Linked DNA regions of Homo sapiens: region 2 is linked to region 1. Evidence: promoter capture Hi-C in human tissues and cell types (Jung and others, 2019). All regions are on one chromosome and are shown on one strand. The core of a region is centred on a gene start or on the middle of the fragment in contact, and the rest is flanking DNA. Distances in the headings are between cores, read along the strand shown. Region 1 holds the start of CST9 (cystatin 9). Region 2 overlaps LOC107985383 (a long non-coding RNA gene).

Evidence for each region. The method cuts DNA at HindIII sites, captures the fragments that hold promoters and counts their contacts. A contact is called where the count stands out against the background at its distance.
Region 2: a contact is called between a fragment that was not itself captured here and the fragment with the promoter of CST9 in region 1, in 2 of the 25 tissues and cell types used here (heart left ventricle and thymus).

Annotation. Positions count from the first base shown.
Region 1 is chr20:23,601,163-23,608,122 of GRCh38, forward strand. CST9 (cystatin 9) reads right to left here and starts at 4,755. Exons shown (of 2, transcript NM_001008693.3): 1 at 4,448-4,755; 2 at 1,248-2,572. The coding sequence starts at 4,702. The coding sequence ends at 2,348. RefSeq lists an enhancer at 1,204-1,705. The HindIII fragment of the contact is 5,555 bases long and covers 2,254-6,960 here.
Region 2 is chr20:23,671,699-23,678,775 of GRCh38, forward strand. LOC107985383 (a long non-coding RNA gene) reads left to right here. Exons shown (of 5, transcript XR_001754712.2): 4 at 1,712-1,833; 5 at 2,438-3,172. Among named protein-coding and RNA genes, the nearest start is that of CST4, 14 kb to the right of the region's middle. The HindIII fragment of the contact is 5,616 bases long and covers 1,440-7,055 here.

The sequences.
Region 1 (6,960 bases), core at 3,505-6,004:
AGTCCCTTTGAAGTTCACAAGTAACTACAGATAAATGCTGAAGGCATCTTCATGGAGAAGAAACTTAAGTCTTGTCCAGAAAGAGTACTTTATTTAATTTTTAGCTGGAGGATGTGATGGTTTCTTTCTCGAGGCCAGACTGTGGACCATAGGGGTATATCCTGCTGGGAGGCAAATGCAGAAATTCAACCCTGAATTGGGTGCCCTGAGGCTGGGGAGACTGGGACATATACCTGCTCACTTCCAGTGACAGAATGTGACTCTCAGATGTGACCTTTCCCACACCTGCAGGGTGCACCTGCTCTGCTGATGGAGCTCATTTGCACAGATCAACCCCTGAGTGAAGCTGGGGGAGATACAGGTGCCTGGCGTGGGAGCTGGTAGCATGGTGTGTCTCAGGGGCACCAGGGTCCAGAGGAGCTCTTAGCATCAGAGACTGGTAACTATGGCCTGAGGCCCAAGCAGCTCACTGCCTGTTTGTGTAAATAAACACTTATTGGAACACAACCACTCTTACATGTTTGCACATTGGCTATTGCTCCTTTCAAGATACGACAGCAATTCTGAGTAGCTGAGAGAGACCATCTGCCCACAAAGGCCAGAATAGTTACTCTCTGGCTTCTTCAGAAAATTTTTTTGCCAAACCCTGGTTTAGGTGATTTGGGCAATGTCTTGGTAGCATCTAGTCTGCCCGTGCCTCTCACACTGCATCCCCTGGGGGTGTGCATTCCTGCAAATCCTGCATTTTCAGGGGATTTCTGCATCCCTGGGGATTTGTAAGAGCGCAGATGCATTTTCCAAAGGTCAGAGGCCCTGAAGTTGGACATTTCTAAGATTCTTTCAGAAGATGCTGCTGCTCCAGATGCCAGGACAGCTTTATAAGGGTGAGGCTAGAAGTCCTTCCTCTTCCCACCAACCTTCCACGAACCAGGAAAGGTGTGTGAGCCACCCCTTGAGAACAGAGGCCACATGTGCTGAGTGGGACCCAGAGGCCCTGTCTTGCTCAGTTGTGCACATTGGGTGTCCTGCAAGATCACAGACATTTTACCTCTGGCCACATGGGTCATCATCAGCCACGAGCATGGAGACAGCAGCTCAGACTTATCTTGGTTGTGCCACCTGGAAGCTGGCTTATGAGGTCTTAAGGGAGGGAGGACCCCACTGACACAGATGCAAATAGGCTGCCCTTCTGAGAGGAACTCCATCAACTGCTCAGCCCCCTCCCTCCAGAACATGGCACAGGAAGCTTCTGCAAATGCTGATGTTTAATGACCTATTCTACTTGAGGAACCTGGACAGTGAGGATTTTCTAAAATGCCAAGTCATAAAACCTCAGACACTTGCAAAATAAGAGAACAAATATGCACGGAGCTGCTCAGCCACTGATATGTCAACTCCTGGGAACAGCTGGTGTCCACGGGGGAGGGGGCAGCATGTGGCCAGGCATGTGAGTGGCTTCCACTCAGGAGAGCCCCTCTGAGCAGGTCTTGTTCAGGAGTTCAAAATATGTCTTCCAGGGCATGGTTTCAACAGTGAAGAAGCAGCTGAAGGTCCGAGGGAACAAACAGGAAGAGACAGTAGGGCGGGGTTTGGGGAGGTTCGGGAATCTTGTGGCATCTGCCCTCAACACAGGTTCCATCTCCACCTTGCCCATTCCTGGGGCCAGCAATTGTGCCACGTGGCTCTGGCCTTCAGGTCTAGCCTGAGCCTGAGGCCAATCCTGAACTACAACGTGATTTGAGGCTCCCTCCCTCCTTAGCCAGGGTCACTTGTGCCATGCCTCCTCCTCCAGCCCGTGCCCCTCAGGGGAACCCCAGGCTGTCCTGGTGTGATCCCTGCATCCAAGAGCAGCAGGAGAATGTTTTGTCCCAGTGGAAGCAGTTCCCAGACTTAGGCAATTAGTTACCTATTTGTTAATCTTACAATAAGGGGGTTGACTAAGAATGGGAAGTTTTCCCAGAGCCAGGCTTTGCTTGGAGCTCGTCCCCTAGAGCAGGTGCTGCAGCTCAGCAGGGCCTAGGAGCGAGGGCAGTGGGGCTTCTTCTCAGCCTCCACCACTTTTGGGTCTAGGGCAGGGTAGGGAAACCCTGAGAAAAGTACCCACAGACATTGTCACCATTGTCTCCAGGCTCTTTCTCTAGAAGGCAGGGAAGAAGTGGGGAGGAAGACCAGAGAGAAGGTTCTGAAGGCCATGTGGCCCAGGTGCAGGCAGCTGCAATGGTGTCAGAGGGCAGAATCAGGAAACTCAGATTGGCCAGGGGCCTGAAAGTGAACCCCTGGGCTTAATGCCTCACTGGGCTTCCCACTAAGGCACAAGCAGGGCAGCCTGGTACAGCCTGCTGTGGGCTCACTTCCCTTTGTCCCTCGGAATGGCTTTGTCAGCTGCTCCTGTGCCCACACCACACCCCATGCAGCATCCACAGCTGTGGACCTGAGGAAAGCTGATGCCCTGTCTTACGTTGTTCAGCTCCAGGCTTTCTTGAAAAGGGCAGTTGTCAATGTCATCTTCAAATTTCCTACATACGGTTTGGCGCAGTTGCAGATTCATGGAGAACACCATCTTACCTCGCCACTGTTGGACAAAAGAAGATTAAAGTGGATGCACCGTCTTCCTGCCCCTAAGTAGCTACTAGTGAAGATGCCATTTGAGTAGGAGAGGCCCCAACACTTTACTGCATTTGAGAGCTTGCCCATGGGCCTGGCATCAGCTCACTGGAGGTGAAACCCAGGGGATCTTCTCTAGACTGAGGAGTTAAGAGCAAAAAGCAGGTGGGCATGGTGGGTCTGGGGAGGATGCAGGCTGAGTCAGACCCCACTAACACATTATCCACCTCCACCCACCCCCATTTCCCACGGTGAGACTCCAGCTTCACTCTCAGTAGGCATCTGATCTTGCAGCTGCATTCCCAGAGGACAGAGCCACATGTCCGGGAGGGTGTTGGATCTCCAAGAGTTTTCAGGGTAACTTCAGCCCTGGGACAGAGGGAGCCTCATCTACAGTGTGTTGTCAAACCTTCCAAGTGACCTCCAGCAAGAAGAATGACACACAGCGCTCCCACTACACACAGGCACACACCCTGGGAAAATGGGTTCAAGAAATACCATCTGCCCTATTGCAAAGTGCATGCTGAAGTTCTCCTTGCCCTCCTTCCCACTCCATTCTATTTAATTCCACTCCATAGCCTCCCTCTCACCCATCTATTCTTCCCAGCCCCCAAACTGATGCTGGGATTGCCATATCCAGGAAGCCATGTGGAAAGCTTTTAGGACTTACTGTCATTTAGGACTTATAGACCATAGTAAGGAGCTTAGATTTTATTCTAACGGTATTAAGAATGGAGGCTTACACTGAGGTCTTGGAGAATCAAGCAAAGCACTGGGAAAGCAGAAGCATGAGGCCTGGCCAATCTCAATCTCTGAGACTTCCAAGGTTCCAGCATGAATATTAGCAGCCACCATTACTGGACCAGATGCCCCTCTGAGGGTTGCATCAGGCTTTTAATTCTCCTGAGAGGAGGCAGCAAATGAGCAAGGAGGAAAATTCCTCTGTACCAGCATTGGAATCCTGAGGATGGCAGTGAGGAATCCACCCCAGGAGGCAGAGAACCAGCCAGAGCCTTGCACAGAGTCTTTCCAGAGCTTAAGCTCTGTGCGGTACTAGAGTCCCTCTGCCTTTCTTTCAGGCTCTTGGTGCTGAGAAAGGAAGAGCAATGCTCCTTCTCTCTCTAAACCAGAAGTTCTCCACTAGGAGGGCATTTTAATTGTTCATGCCTGAAGCCCAGATGAACTGTGCATTCCTGACCACATTTAATGATTTCATCAAAAAGGCAAGCATTTTAGGATAAAGGTCCATTGAGGAAGAGTGTAAATTGGCCTTCAGTTCATTAAGTGCAGACAGAGCAAGGAGCCCAGAGAAGGTGGAGATCAGAGAACTAACCTTTCACGGTGGCCTCTCAGGGCTGATGGTGTTCTTTATTGCCCTCGAATTCTCACTGTTCTCTCTCTGTCTGCCTGTCTCTCTCTCTCTCTGTCTCTCTCTCTCTGTCTGTCTGTCTCTCTCTGTCTCTCTCTCTCTCTCCCTCTGTGTGTCCTTGCTTTTCCATTTTCATTTTATGACCTGGAAATGTTTATCAGTCTCTTTGGTTATTTTCTCTTCTTGTCAGCTTCATCTCCTTAGAAGTCCTTATTTTGAAGTCACTCTTCAGTTATACAATGTCTTAAAAATCATGAAGATTGAAAAATATATTTTGCATGTGAATAGACATTTACCTAATTTAAAAAAAATTTTAAGTTCAATGTTTTCCAAAACTAAAACTACCGTAATTGGTTGTGGACTACCTGACTATGGACTGCTGATGGTGAACCAAGTCTCCTAGACTAGACATCTTGGTCCCTCACTTAGGGGCAGATGGAGAAGGACAGGCCAGAAGAGGATGTGGTCACCAACCTTTCTGTCCATGCTATCCTCCCTCCATGAACTCAGGACGCGCAACAGCCTGTAGGCATGCTCCTCCTTGCTCTGCACGTTGAAAGTGTTCAAGGCAAACTCCACTGTGGCGAGGAACATAGGATCCTGGACTATTTTATTATTACCACCCATTTCCTCTTCAGAACACCAGGCATAAGTCACCAGGAGCTGGAAGCCCATGAGAAGCAGTGACAGTGCCCAGGGCATAGCCTTCCTCCTCTGCGGACTCGACATGATGCAGGCTCCAGCAGCCCTTGCCTTTGCCCTTCAGATCCCTGGCGTCCACTGGAGCCTTCCAGGGCTCAGGTCTGGCCTTTAAATTCACCTGCTGGGGCAGAAACTCCTCCCTCCAGGCCTCACCTCTGCAGTTACACCCTGTCTCTCCCACACATGGCCTCCCTTCTTCCAAAGGCGTTTAAATCATCTCCTGTTTAGGGGAGAGGAACAGCACCCAGGCAGGTGGGTTGGAAAAGACTAGCAATGGGAGAGATAGTGCCCTGAACATGAGGCCCAGCCCCAGCTGCCCCAGCACCTCCGCAGGCTAAAGGAGACCTCTACTGGGCGCCCCAGAGTCAGAGCCCGGCACAGGAACACAAGTGTGAGAGGTATGAGTGGAAGGTGAGCCCTGGACTCAGCAGTGGGGGTGGGCTGGGAGGGGGAGGTTAGGTGGAAAGGCAGAGACAAAAGGATGGAAAGGGATGACAGTGGATGCTAGTATCATGGGTGAGCAGGTACAGCGCCCCGAGAAAGCACTGGGCCTCTTGAGAGAGAGGCGGGGAGCCCGGGAGGATTGGCGGGATGTCCTGCAGGTGTCTGCTCCCCCGAGGGTCTCGGGAGGGGGGCACCAGCCTGGGGGTCGTGGGCAGAGGTTGAGGAAATCAAGAGCAGGAGCCCCCAACCCTGTTCTCTGCACCTCCCTAAATGCAGCTTCCCAGCCCAGGGACGCGCTGCCAAGTGCTGGTACTAGGGGCCTGGCTAGTTATGGCTGCCCCTATTCCTCAAAGGTGTTTCCAGGACGGGTGGCCGCTTGCAATTGGAGCAGTGGAGAACCAGAAAGACGAAGATGCCCTCAGGGATGGCTGAAGTGCACCCATTAGGTTGTCACGGGTTCCCTCCTGTGGCCACAGCCGGCACAGCACTCTGCGGCACAGTTTGTGGGTGGAGATTCTGAGTTCTCGACCAAGACCCACATAGCCTCCAACTCCAACCGCAAATGGGGCTCTCAAAAGACTGAATAATGCACTCTTCACAGACCAGACTTAAGCTTTGTCCCTGTGAAATATGCCTTTGATGTTTATCCGTAGCTCCTTGTAAACTTCAGAAGCAACCAGCATCCCCTGATGTCACGTTAAAAAGCAAGTTCCTAGTTTCCCCACCCAAAGATTCTGACCCAGTAGCTGTGAGCAGGGCCAGGGAAACTACATTTCTCACCAGCTTCCAGAGGATGGTTGTGTTCCCGGTCTCAGAACCATACTTTGAGTGGTGCAGGTTCAGAATACTTCCTGGGAAGTGCATACAGACCAAACCACATATGAGAAGTAACTCAGCTTGAGGGGCATGGAGGTCAGGGGATGAGAATGGCTTTTGTGGGGCACACAGGATGGGGGACAGGCTTAGACAGCATGCCTGGTGATAAAGAATAAGAGTTTGTTTCTAGACCCTGTTTGCAAAGAAAAAGCAACTCAATGTGACAATTCCAGGAAAGCAGCCAGATGTGCCAAAAACATCACCCAAGGAGTCTGTATCCTTTCTCTGATGGCGTTGAGTTCACTGGAACTGCAGCTGAAGCGTAACTAATGTGGTTTCTTAGCTGGAGAGTGATGGTGCACGTAGGGGTAGGAAGGGGGTGTCAGTGAGGGCGGAAATGCCTTTGTGGGTTTTGGGATGAGCAGGCCATAAGGTGCTGTGAGAACTAGAATCCTGATGCCTGGAATAGGTTGCGAGTGTCCTGAGAGAGGCCTGCAATGCCCATGGAGGTCACTCTCACCTTGTAAGTTCAGCGGCTGACAAACTTGGGGCATCCTGCCAATTGCCAGTGGCTCCCCCACCATTCTGAGGGCCGATACCCACATGTGCTCCAAGGGAGTGCCCACACTCACTCTTACATGAGCAGTGGTTTAGGGTCCTGGGCACCAGCTCTGTCCTCACTGTGCAGCCAAGGAGGGGACAGGGATCCCCACACCCAGATGTGAGACCACGGGTGTACAGACACCATGGACCCTTACAAGTGTGTCTATTTTCTTGTTGAATCCCCAGTGGCCTGGGATGGCCTCACTTCCCAGGTGGAGAGAGACGGGAATATCAAGACATAGCCAGGTAAAGAGAAATACATGTGGGCTCCAGGCTGAGGAGCCCCGAAGACGTGGGTCAACATGTTGCCGAGGCCAGAGTGAAACCGGACGGCCCGGAGGGGCTGGCTGGCCAGCCCACAGGCACAGCTCACAGCTCTCTGCAGGGCTATCCCCAGGTCTCAGGTCTGGGAGGCTTTCTCT
Region 2 (7,077 bases), core at 2,998-5,497, 70 kb after region 1:
TGGAGACTGTGCCAGGGAATTAGTTATCTTGCACTTACTTGGGCTATTTGTACAGGTAAATGGTTACAGATGCTGGCAAATGGAAAGTGGGCTGATTGATGCTGAGGTAGAAAGGACCCAGGAATGTAGGCAGCTTGTCCTCCTCCCCTAGCCTCTCTATGGGTTTGGTGCCTTGCTCTGTGCTCTCCAGTGCCCTATTCTCTCCTCTGATTTCCACTTCCCTGTCTAGCAGACCTGACACCCATTGATGGTGGAAGACTCAGATCTTCCTCCTCGAGTTATCCAGCACCCAATCGAGTGTCTACCACAGAGCACATGCTCAATAATACAGGAGGAGGACACAATTAGGCCCATTTTATGACAAGTCTGAAAATTTTCCATAAATCTTTGTTTAGCAACTTTAATTTATGGACAAATCCTCTTGAGTAATTAAAAGAGAAACATTTTATAAAAGTTGCAGAAACAGAAAGCAAATAGCTTTATGTCATTTAAAAAAAATCACACAGAAAAGTGAAAATGTCTATAAAAGAAATGAGAGACAAGGAAAATTGTAATCATTAGCTTGGAGGCCCAAAAGTAAAATAAGGTAAAGGTGAAAATGAATCACTGGTGCTATGAAGCTCATTCCCTTCCATGGAACAAGGAATTGGGTAAGAGAGGCAACCCAACACCACATGCCAGCACCCAGGCAGTTCCAAGTGGGTTCAGGGCAAAATAATCTTGGCATCTTGGTGAACTTGGTGGGTGAAAACACAAATGATCATCAAGGTACTCTGCCTAGGTGATGCTTTACTGCCCGAAGCTGGGTAAAATGTTTTTCTGTGTACTTTAAGGCATTTTTAGGATACTGTATACATATATATATATATATATATATATTTTTTTTTTTTTCGAGACGGAGTCTCACTGTGTCATCCAGGCTGCAGTACAGTGGCGCGATCTCTCAGTGCAGTGGCGCGATTTCCGCCTCCTGGATTCAAGTGATTCTCCTGCCTCAGCCTTCCAAGTAGCTGGGACTGCAGGTATGCGCTACCATGCCTGGCTAATTTTTGAATTTTTAGTAGAGACATGGTTTCACTACGTTGGCCAGGCTGGTCTCAAACTCCTGACATCAAGTGATCCACCTGCCTTGGCCTCCCAAAGTGCTGGGATTATAGGCGTGAGCCATCCCCCCTGTGAGGTCACTATATTTTATTATACTTCTATTATTTGGTTTCAGGTCCACTATGTCCAAAATGTCTGGGGAAGCAGAGGTGGTGAGCAGGGACAAAGTGGGATCTGAGCTGTGCTCTTGCTTGCCTGGTACCCCGGTGCTGTGGGCAGCACAGACATCTGCCTGGTGTGATTGAGTGGGCATTTGTGGTAGTCATTAGGGCTGTCCCTTGAGTGCTTCTGTTTCTTATGGGTACAAGACAGGATTGTCCTTCCCCTTCCTTTGAGTTTGTTGTAGTCATGACCTGCTTTGGTCAATATAATAGAAGAATAAGTGGCATCTGTTACTTCCAGTTGCACTTGGGGAAAGCTGGTGCTCATTGCCTTGGCCACTGATACCATTGTGAGGGTGTCTTCTCCATCATCTTGGGGTCCAGAGTGAGCACAACATAGTTCAGCACCCCCAACACACATGCAGTGCATCTATACAAATAGCAGTCACAATAATGGAATGGTATGTTGCTGTCTTAAGTCCCTCATACTTTTTTTGTTACCACAGCATAACCCAGCTCATCCTGACTGATGCCACCATTTCAAGAGAAGAGAAATGAGACTGAGAAAGATTAAGATATTTTCTTAAGATTGGACACTGTGTTCCTACCCGTTGTGCTTGCCTTATAGGTATGTGTTCTGGTTTTGACAATCAAGATATAGATAAAATGAGGGCAGAAACATTTGATTATTTACTAAGAGCAAGAGAAGGAGAAAGAGAATTAAACAGAGAGGAAGAAGATATGTAAGGAGGAAAAGCAATAAACTAGGAACCAAGCGCGTGCAATCTTTATAATTTCTTTAGAATTTTCTTCGCTTTTAAAACTTTGTTTTATTTTTGAAAGGGAAGGAGTATCTTCCATTAATTTTATAGGACATCCCATGCTTTTTGTAAAACGGAGTTTTATTTATTTTCCACTAAATACAAATATTTATTGCCTGTCTACTATAGGCTATACTTTGGCCTTTTGTTCTGTATAATTCTCCTCATTTAAAAAGGTATAATTAGTCAACATACATTTCATAGATTTACAGCCAAGTATTGTCTGTATACCTATTGGTTTCACTTTGATCTTCTATATTCAGAAAAAGAAAACAAGAAGAGACTTTAATAACTAATTATAAGATAAACATTAAGAGTCTTGTGTTAGGCTTCTGTGTACACTGTTCAGTTAGTTTTGAAATTATTTTTGTATTCATTCATTCATTCATTTCTCTTAATTCTTTTTTCCAGTCGAAAGAGAATTTATTTAAGCACAGAGATCAAGCAAAAGTGGAGCACAGGACACACTTTCAAGTTGCCTTGGGGACTGCTCTGTAGAACAAAAAAGAAACTCAAGATTTTAAGGAATAAAAAGTACAAATGAAGAGAAGGCATGATTACAAAAGTTGTTGATCAGTAATTCTCATTGGTAGACAGAAATACCAGTGGCTAATGATCGGCTATACATTGTTGAATTATAGGATGTATGGTATTTAAAATATATTTATTTAAAACTAAATTTTTTAAAGATTTTTGATGGGTTTAGGGGTACAGGTGCAGTTGTGTTACATGGATATATTGTGTAGAGGTGAAATCTGAGCTTTTAATGTACAACTACCCAAATAAGATACATTGAACCCGATAGGCAGCATTTCACTTTCACCCTCATTCTATCCTCCCACCGTTTGGAGCCTCCAATGTCTATCATTCAACTCAGTAAGTCCATGTCCATGGTTTAGCGCCCACGTATAAGTGGGAATGTGCAGTTCTTGATTTTCTGTTTCTGAGTCATTTCACTAAGGATAATGCCCTCCAGCTCCATACACATTGCTGCAAAAGTCATAATTTCATTCACTTTTATGGCTGAATAGTATTCCATGGTATATATCTACCAGATTGTTTTATTCAATGATGTGTTGATGGACACTTAGGTTGATTTCACAACTTTGCTATTCTGAATTGTGATACAATAAATATACAAATGCAGAAGGCTTTTTTATATAATGATTTCTTTCTTTTTGGGGGGTACATAGGCAGTAGTGGAATTGCTGGATTGAAGGGTAGTTCTATTTTTAGTTTTCTAGAAATTACCATACTGTTTTCTATAGAGGTCATACTAATTACATACCAACATCTTGTTTTTTGACCTTTTTTGAGACAGGGTCTCCCTCTGTTGCCCAGGCTGAAGTGCAGTGGCATGATCATAGGTCACTGCAGCCCCAACCTCTTGGGCTCAAGGCATCCTCCTGGCTCTGCCTCCTGAGTAGCAAGGACTGCAGGCCCACACCACCACACCTGGATATTTTTTTTTTCTTGTTTGTTGAGACAAGGTCTCACTATGTTGCCGAGGCTTATCTTGAATGCCTGAGCTCAAGTGATCCACCCACCTCAGCCTCTCAAAATACTGTGATGACAAGCATGAACCACTGCACTTGGCTATTTTTTGACTCCTTAATAACAGCCATTGTGACTAGTATAAGATGGTATGGCATTGTGGCTTTAATTTTCATTTCTCTGATATTTAATTATGTTAAGCATTTTCATAAGTTTGCCATTTGTATGTCTTTTATTTAAAAATGTCTGTTCATACCCTATGCCCACTTTTTAATGGGGTTATTCTTGTTTTTCTCGTTGAGTTGTTTGAGTTCCTTGTAGAGTCTGGAAATTAGCTCTTTGTCAGACACACCGTTGGCAAATCTTTTCTCCCATTCTGTAGGTTGTTTGTTTACTGATAATTATTTCTTTCGCTGTGCAGAAGCTTTTTAGTTTTATTAAATCCCATTTCTCTGTTTTGGTTTTTGTTGTATTTTACTTTGAGGACTTCATCAGAAATTCTTTGCCTAGATCAATAGTTAGAAGAGTTTTTCCTAGGTTGTCTTCTAAGATTTTTATAGTTTCAGTTCTTACATTTAAGTCTTTAATCCACCTTGAGTTAATTTTTGTATGTGATGGAAGGTAAGAGGCCAGTTTCATGAATCTACATATGGCTCAGCAATTATCCCAGCACCATTTATTGAATAGAATGTGATTTCCCTTTATATAATTTTGTCAAGTTTGTCAGAAATCAGTTGACTGTAGCTGTGTGGCTTTATTTTTCAGTATGTGTCTATTTCTATAACATGACCGTGCTGTTTTGGTTACTACAGCCTTGCAATATAATATGATATCTCCAATTTTATTCTCTTTGCTTAGCATTACTTTGGGTATTCATGATCTTTTCTTGGTTTCATATGAATTTTAGGATTTTTTTTTCTAATTCTATGAAGAATGACATTGGTAGTATGATAGTAATTTAACTGAATCTGTAGATAGCTTGGGCAGTATGGTCATTTTAATGATATTGATTCTCCCAATCTATAAGCATGGGATTTTTAAAATTTCTTTGTGCCATCTATTATTTCTTTCTTCAGGATTTTGTAGTTCTCTTTGTAGAGATCTTTCACCTCCTTGGTTAAATGTGTTTCTAGGTATTTTATTACTTTTTGTAGCTATTATGAATTGGATTGAGTTCTTGATTTTGTTCTCAGCTTGGTCATTATTGTTATGTAGAAATGCTACTGATTTTTGTACATTAATTTTGTATCCTGAAACTTTCATGAAGAAATTTATCAAATCGAAGAGTCTTTGGAAGAATCTCTAGGGTTTTCTAGGTATAAGATCATAACATAAAAGAAAACAGAAAATTTGACTTCCTCTTTTACAATTTGGATGTACTTTATTTCTTTCTTCTGCCTGATTGCTTTAGCTGGAACTTCCGGTAGTATGTTGAATAGGAGTAGTCATAGTGGGTATCCTTGCCTTATTCCTATTCTTAGGGAAAATGCTTTCAACTTTTCTTCATTCAGAATGATGTTGGCGTTGGGTTTGTCATATATGGCATTTATTGTTTTGAGGTATGTTCCTTCTATGCCTAGTTTGGTAAGGGTCTTTGTTATGAAGAGATGCTGCATTTGGTTAAATGCCTTTTCCCGAATCTTTTGATATGATCACATGATTTTTGTTTTTAATTCTGTTTATGTGGTGAATCCTATTTTTTTTATTGTGTCTGTTGAATCAATCTTGCATCTCTGGAATAAAACCCACTCAATCTTTGTGTATTATGTCTTTGATATGCTGCTGGATTTTGTGTGGTAGCATTTTGTTGAAGATTTTTGCTTCTATGTTTATTAGAGATATTGGTTTGTAGTTTTTTGTTGTTGTTGTTTTTGGTTATGTCCTTGTCTATCTTTGGTATCATCGCAATGCTGGCTACATAGAATAGAATAGAGAAGATTCCCTTTTTGGAAAAGTTTCAGTAAGATTGGCAGCAGTTCTGTCTTGTACATCTGATAGAATTTGGCTATGAACTCATCTGGTCCTAGGCTTTTTTGTTGTTGTTGGGAGTTTTTTTTTTTTTTTCTTACTAATTCAATTTTATTACTCATTATTGGTCTGTTCAAAATTTCTTTTTCTTCCTGGTTGAAACTTAGGGGATTGTATATTTCCAGAAATCCATCTATTTCTTCTAGATTTTCTCATTTGATCACATAGCGATGCTCAGAGTAGTCTTTGATAATCTTCTGTATTTCTGTTGTATCAGTTGTAATGACACCTTTATCGCTTCTGCTTGCACTTGTTTGAATCTCCTCTCTTTGTTTGTTGGTTAATCTAGCTAGTGGTCTATTGATTTTGTTGATCTTTTCAAACAACCAACTTCATTTCATTGATTCTTTTTTTTTTTTTTTGGTCTCAATTTCATTTAGTCCTTTTCTGATTTTTATTCTTTTTTTCTTTTTTACTAGCCTTGGGTGTGGTTTGTTTTTTTTCCTCAGGTTTCTTGAGGTATAACCTTAAGTTGCTTATTTGAAATCTTTCTATCTTTTTCATGTAGGCAGTTAATGTTATAAATTTCCCTCTTAGTACTGATTTGGTTGTTTTTAAGACATTTTTGCAATCTATATCTTTATTTTTATTCATTTACTTTTTTTAATGTCGATTTTAATTTCATCATTGGTCCAACAGTCATTCAGAAGCAGATCATTTAATTTTCATGTATTTGTATAGTTTTGAGTATTCCTCTTAGTGTTGATCTGTATGTTTATTTCACTGTGGTTCAAGAAGGTATTTGGTATGATTTCAATTTTTTTACATTTATTGAAATTTTCCTTGTGGCCTAGCATATGGTAAATTTTTGAGAATGTTTTATGCATATACCAGAAGACTGTATATTCTGAAGTTGTAGGGTAGAATATTCTGTAAATATCTGTTAGGTCCATTTGCTCTAGAGTTCAACTTAATTCCAGAATTTTTTGGTTGATTTTCTGCCTCAATAAACTGTCTAGTTCTGTCAGTGAGATATTGAAGTCCCATACAAATACCGTATTGGTATTTATCTCTTTTTTTAGGTGTAGTAGTATTTGTTTTATGAATCTAGGTGTTCTAATGTTTGGTGCAAATGTATTTGGAATTGTTAGATCTTCCCCAATAAATTTCTTTATCATTATATAATTACCTTATTTGTCTCATTTATAGATTTTCCTATTTTTTTCCTTTTTGTTCTCTCTCTGAAATATGTGTGACTCCTAATTTTACATGCTTTTTATATGGTCCCATATTTCTTGAAATGTTTAATCATTAATTTTTTTCCTTTATTTTTGTCTGACTGGGTTAATTTCAAAGACCTACTTTCCACATCTGAAATAATTTCTTCTGCTTTGGTCAAGCCTACTATTGATACTTTTAACTGGATTTCAAAATTTCACCAATACATTTTTTATTTCTAGTAGTTGTTTGGGTTTTTAAAAATCTATCTTTTTTGATACTTGAATAGTATTTCTGATTTATTTTGGTTTTCAATTTTCTCTTGGATTATATTGTGCATTTTTAAAATCGGCATTTTAAATTCTTTATCA